Linked DNA regions of Homo sapiens: region 1 is linked to region 2. Evidence: promoter capture Hi-C in 16 types of primary human blood cells and fetal thymus (Javierre and others, 2016). All regions are on one chromosome and are shown on one strand. The core of a region is centred on a gene start or on the middle of the fragment in contact, and the rest is flanking DNA. Distances in the headings are between cores, read along the strand shown.

The links. Contacts are between HindIII fragments. The CHiCAGO score rates a contact against its expected background, and 5 or more counts as called.
Region 1: a contact is called between the fragment with the promoter of EIF3L here and the fragment with the promoter of JOSD1 in region 2, in 2 of 17 cell types (M2 macrophages and erythroblasts). The highest score is 6.7, in M2 macrophages.

The regions. Positions count from the first base shown.
Region 1 is chr22:37,848,017-37,850,716 of GRCh38, forward strand. It overlaps EIF3L (eukaryotic translation initiation factor 3 subunit L), which reads left to right and starts at 1,403. Exons shown (of 13, transcript NM_016091.4): 1 at 1,403-1,466; 2 at 1,999-2,047. The coding sequence starts at 1,434. It also overlaps a transcript of ANKRD54 not described here. RefSeq lists enhancers at 522-1,044, 1,045-1,567, 1,568-2,089. The HindIII fragment of the contact is 2,543 bases long and covers 1-2,302 here.
Region 2 is chr22:38,699,613-38,702,371 of GRCh38, forward strand. JOSD1 (Josephin domain containing 1) reads right to left here and starts at 1,331. Exons shown (of 5, transcript NM_001360236.2): 1 at 1,188-1,331; 2 at 191-1,006. The coding sequence starts at 375. RefSeq lists a silencer at 838-1,797. The HindIII fragment of the contact is 4,284 bases long and covers 442-2,759 here.

The sequences.
Region 1 (2,700 bases), core at 153-2,652, 850 kb before region 2:
CCAGAGGTGGAGCGTGCCTCAGTGGGAAAAGCAAGGAGGGCGGCGTGACAAAGGGACCCAGAGAGTCCTGGTCACACAGCAAATCAGTGGCGGAGTAGGGACTGGAACTCGGATTTCCACTAGGTGTTGTGTATGGGCAGATGGCTAAACTAAGGCCTCTCCTTGACTCATACACCGGTTTTTATTGGTTTGCTTTATAACCCCATCTCTACCTTGAGGGTTTCCCCTGGCCTCGAACCCGGTGTACTCAAGAGCTGCCCATGTCCCAGGCTTCGCGACACAGCTGGCCTCATCTTTGCCTGCTCCAACTTTAATGTCCAAAGTTGGGTGGCTCCTGTTCTCCATTCCCTCTTACTGCATGGGACCAAATCTCAATTTTTTTTTTTCTTTTTTTTTTTAGACGGAGTCTTGCTCTGTCGCCCAGGCTGGAGTGCAGTGGCGCGATCTCGGCTCACTACAGCCTCTGCCTCTCAGGTTCCACCGATTCTCCTGCTTCAGCCTCCTGAGTAGCTGGGATTACAGGCGGACGCTACCACTCCCGGCTAATTTTTGTATTTTTAATAGAGACGGGGTTTCGCCATTTCGGCCAGGCTGGTCTCGAACTCCTGATCTCAGATCATCCACCCGCCTCGGCCTCCCAAAGTGTAGGGATTACAGGCGTGAGCCATCGCGCCCGGCCAAATCTCAATTTTTATCCCCAGTAAGTTTAGTCTTGTGAAGTCCGAACGTTTGAATAATTTACTCGCTGCAGGCAAACCGCCTACAACTAAATCCATCAGGCCCCCGTATCCGAATCTTCCTTCACGCGAGAAGCCGGCCATCTTTTGTGTAGCATTCTTTCTGGTTCCTCTAACTTTGCCTCTCCTTTACGCCAAATACGTGTCCTTATATCTGAATCTACACCACTATTATAGATTCACCTTCTTTGAGAAGTCCCTATTTGAAGAGAGGAAAATTCAGGCTACTTGTAACCCTCTTATTCTTTTTAGACGGAGTTTTCCCTCTTGTTGCCCAGGCTAGAGTGCAATGGCGCGATCTCGGCTCACCGCAACCTCCGCCTCCCGGGTTCAAGCGACTCTCCTGCCTCAGCCTCCCGAGTAGCTGGAATTACAGGCATGCGCCACCACTCCCGGCTAATTTTGTATTTTTAGTAGAGACGGGGTTTCTCCATATTGGTCAGGCTGGTCTCAAACCCCCGGCCTCAGCCTCAGGTGATCCGCCCGCCTCGGCCTCCCAAACTGGTGGGGTTACAGGTGTGAGCCACGGAACGCGGCTCCTCTTCCTTCTGGATATGGCTGTCTCAGATGGCCAGAGGCCTCGGAAAGGCTTCCGGTTTCCCGGCAGGCCCGAGTGGGGCTGAACTTCCGGCCTCAGGACGCAGGCGCGGGCCGCTCATTTCGCTCTTTCCGGCGGTGCTCGCAAGCGAGGCAGCCATGTCTTATCCCGCTGATGATTATGAGTCTGAGGTAAGGTGGCCGTAAGGGCGCGGTGGGCTCCACGACGGGGTGATCTCTGGGACCACTGGATGTGGGTCCCGGCGCGAGGCAGCTTCCGGGTCGCGGCCAGCTCCGGCCGACCTCCCGCCCGGCCCTCAGGCTGCTCCCACAGTTCCCGGTCCCTAGACAACCCTGGCTCTGCCCGCCCACTTCGCGTGTTCGATTGGCTTGTCCTTCCCCTTTCTAAGACCGGAGACTAAGGCCTGTTAGACGTTTCTGTGTTTCTGCACCTGAGTTTTTTTGGTCTAGGCTCCGTCTGGTCAAATCTCGCTGATTCCCACAGCCTCTTGTCCTTTGCTCCACCTCATTGCACCCGTAATGTTGTATTGTCATTGTCTGTTTACTGTCCCTTTTCTCTAAGGCGTGTGAGTTCCTCAAAGGCAGGCACAGTGTCTTATTCGCCTCTGTATCCTTAGCTCTCTGCTTGGCATCTAGACTCTAGGATGAGCGTTTTGAATTCACGACTTGGCGGCTGTCCTTGACTGTGTCTCTTTCCTTCTAGGCGGCTTATGACCCCTACGCTTATCCCAGCGACTATGATATGCACACAGGTGAGACCACGGGTTAGGCTGGCTGAGTACTCGTAGGGATCAGTTCCTTTGGAATGTCTTAGAACCAGCTCTGACAGGCATCAAAAATTGCTCTTTGATGGTCCAGGTTTGGAGTCAGTCATTAGCTGCCAGTGCGAGGGGTTTTATAAAGCCTAATAAACCAGGCTTTTTATCATAGTCCACCTCAGTCTTGGAAGAGAAGGATTACTTACCTGGCTATGGTTTTCTTGTGTAAACTATTAGCCAAATAAGAAAAGCTTTTTTGTTTTTGTTTTTGTTTTTGTTTTTGAGATGGAGTTTCCCTCTGTCCCCCAGGCTGGAGTGCAGTGGTGCGATCTCGGCTCACTGCAACCTCCGCGTCCCTCGTTCAAGCAGTAGTTCTCTTGTCTCAGCCTCCTGAGTAGCTGGGATTACAGGCGCCCACCACCATTCCCAGCTAATTTTTAAATTTTTTTAATAGAGACGAGGTTTCGCCGTGTTGTCCAGGCTGGTCTTGAACTCCTGACCTCAGGTGATCCACCCGCCCCAACCTCCCAAAGTGCTGGGATTACAGGCGTGAGCCACCGCGCCTGCCCCAAGGAAGAAAATCTTGATGTGAAAAATTTAAGTAATTCAAACCAAGCCCGAATGAAATCTTTTTAGGAGGTGTCTGA
Region 2 (2,759 bases), core at 81-2,580:
ACTTTCCTAGCCCACCGTAAGTGCCTGATAAATGGTAGTGATTATCTTTTCATGTCTTGTGTCCCTTATACCTGCTAACGCAATCTAGCTAATACCTACAGCTTTGAAGGTTTATGAAGCTGAGACACTGCCCCACCCACAGAAATCCAGAAATATCAGTATCAAGATGCCAAGGAGAAGGGTCCCCTACCTCTGGAAAATCTCTTGCAGCGTATCCCGGGTGAAGGCATTGCTGTCCTGGAAGACGTTATTGAGGGCGTGGAGGGCACAAAGCTCCCTGCGCTGTTTCTCATGGTAGATTTGTGGGGGTGCTGCCTGGGGCAGCTCCAATGATTCAGATTTGGCCTTGTCTCCTTTCCATGGCACACAACTCATGTTTTTTGTTTTAGGTTCCAGAGATGGCTATAAACACCCCACTCTTCCCTCTAGAGGAAGAATGTAAGCTTCTCAGTCTTTTCCGGATTCCTGAGGTCCACCTTATTCTCTGGTGTCCATGATTTATGCTTTGTCACTGGGAGAAAAGATTGGAATCAAAAGGAAAAAAATAAAACCCACCTCTTCTCTCTTCTCAATAGAAAAATAACTTTTGGATTACTTTTATTTTGCTACCACTGTCAAAGTGCAGAATTTAAAAAAACACATAAAATGTAAGACCTTGTTTCCGTTTCCCCACCCTTCCCTCCCACCCCCCTCCAAAATCCCCACGATTTTCTTGCTGTTTCCCTCTGCAAATGCCAGGCCTCAAAGCAGGAGGACCGAACACAATCGGTCACATCGCTCCTTTTCTTCCATTTCTTTTGAACCACGACGCCAATGACTCGGGAGACAAGGCCTGGGTGACGGATAAATTTAGCGCACGAGTCGAGTAGCTAGCGCGGGCCGGCAGGCGTGGGACCGCGAGCCGCGCGGGGGCCTCGGGGGCAGCCCTCCATCCCCTCGGGTACGGTGGGGCCCGCAGGGCGCGGCTCCCTCGGAAGGCGCGGATTCTAGCCCTCTGGCCGCGGCCCTGCGGAGGAGGAGACAACTCCGGTCAGCGGCGAGCGGGCGCGGGAAGTGAGCGGCGGGGCCGGCCCCTGCCCGAGGGAAGGTTCCGCGCGGCGAAGGGCTGGCCCGCGAGGGGTGGGGCCGGACAGTCAGCCTCGCGCTCCCGGGCCCGCGCCCACCCGGCTCGCAGCCCCTACACAAACCTCCCCGCCCGTCACGTGAGCGCAGGCCCAGACGCCCTCCCGCCGCGCCCCCGGCCGCAGACCCCAGGGCCGCCGGGACTGCTCGCCGCTGGCGGTCCCCTCACCGCAGCCGGCCGCCACCTGGAGTGCGCGCCGCCAACTGGGCCGTGCGGGCGGGCGCGCGCACCTGAGCCCGACGTCAGCGGCCCCCGCCCGGCGCGTGCTCCGGAAACGCCCTCCCGCGCCGTCCTCACTCCTCCCAGCCGTGGCGTCACGCCTGACGTAAGTCTGACGTCATCGGCACCGGCCTGGGAGCCGCAGACGCCGGGCGTGTAGGGGCGCAGTTCAACGGTTGGGGTGTTGCAAAGGCCGTGGGTGTGGGGCTGCGGGCTGCGCACCTCGGCGGCGGCCGGCAGGGTTGGGGTCCAGCCGCTCCGCTCGGCGCGGCCCCTGGCGGGGCGGCCTGAGGGAGTCCTACCTGGACGCCAGCCTGCCCTTCTCCCGGGCGTGGGCGTTGTTTCGGGGCGGCAGCCAGGCCAGCGGCTGCAGTCCGCGGCTTTCAGCACCCCTCCCTTCTCTGTGCCGGGCTTTTCGGCCGAACGTTCTCGCTCCTTCTGCGTTGACTGTTTTATGTGTGGTTAACGCGCGGCTCACCAGGGGGGATTTTGAAGCACCTGATTCGGTCGGGCGCAAATTGCCTTGGTTAGTGGGCCCGACCGTGCCGCACTGTCCAGGGAGCGTCAAGGGTAGGTGTCTCGCTGGGAGTCACATTTCAAGTGGAAAGGAGAATCCTGTTGCAGTTCCTTGGTGTCGCATTTCGGTTCACTACACACAAGCCACTGCCTTCTTGCCTGGGGGCTCCCCGCTCTTCTCACGGTGGCTTTCCTCTCTGCAGAGACCTCTGCGCGAGGTATACCTAAGCGCATTGTGTGCGTCTTCGGGAAAAGGCGAAAACTACTCGCAGTCCCACGTGGATTTCATTTTTTCCCCTTTACCTACTCTTAGGGTGCGTGGTAGGCATCATTATCCACCTTAGCTGCCCTTCTTTTGGGTTTTCTGTAAAACTGGAAAAACGAGAAGAAACTGTTGCACTTCAAATTTAGTTGTTTTGTTTTGTTTTTTGGAGACGGAGTTTCGCTCTTGTTGCCCAGACTGGAGTGCAATGGCATGATCTCCGCTCACCGCAACGTCCGCCTCCCGGGTTCAAGCAATTCTCCTGCCTCAGCCTCCCGAGTAGCTGGGATTGCAGGCATGCGCCACCACGCCCGGCTAATTTTGTGTGTTTAGTAGAGGGGTTTCTTCATGTTGGTCAGGCTGGTCTCGAACTCCCGACCTCAGGTGATCCACCCGCCTTGGCCTCCCAAGGTGTTGGGATTACAGAAGTGAGCCACCGTGCCCGGCCTTTTTTTTTTTTTTTTTTTTTAAGATGGAGTTTAACTTTTGTCGCCCAGGCTGAATTGCAACGGGGCGATCTCGGCTTACTGCAACCTTCACCTCCTGGACTCAAGCGATTCTCATGTCTCAGCCTCCCGCGTAGCTGGGATTACAGGCTCCTGCCACTACGCACGGCTAATTTTTGTATTTTTAGTAGAG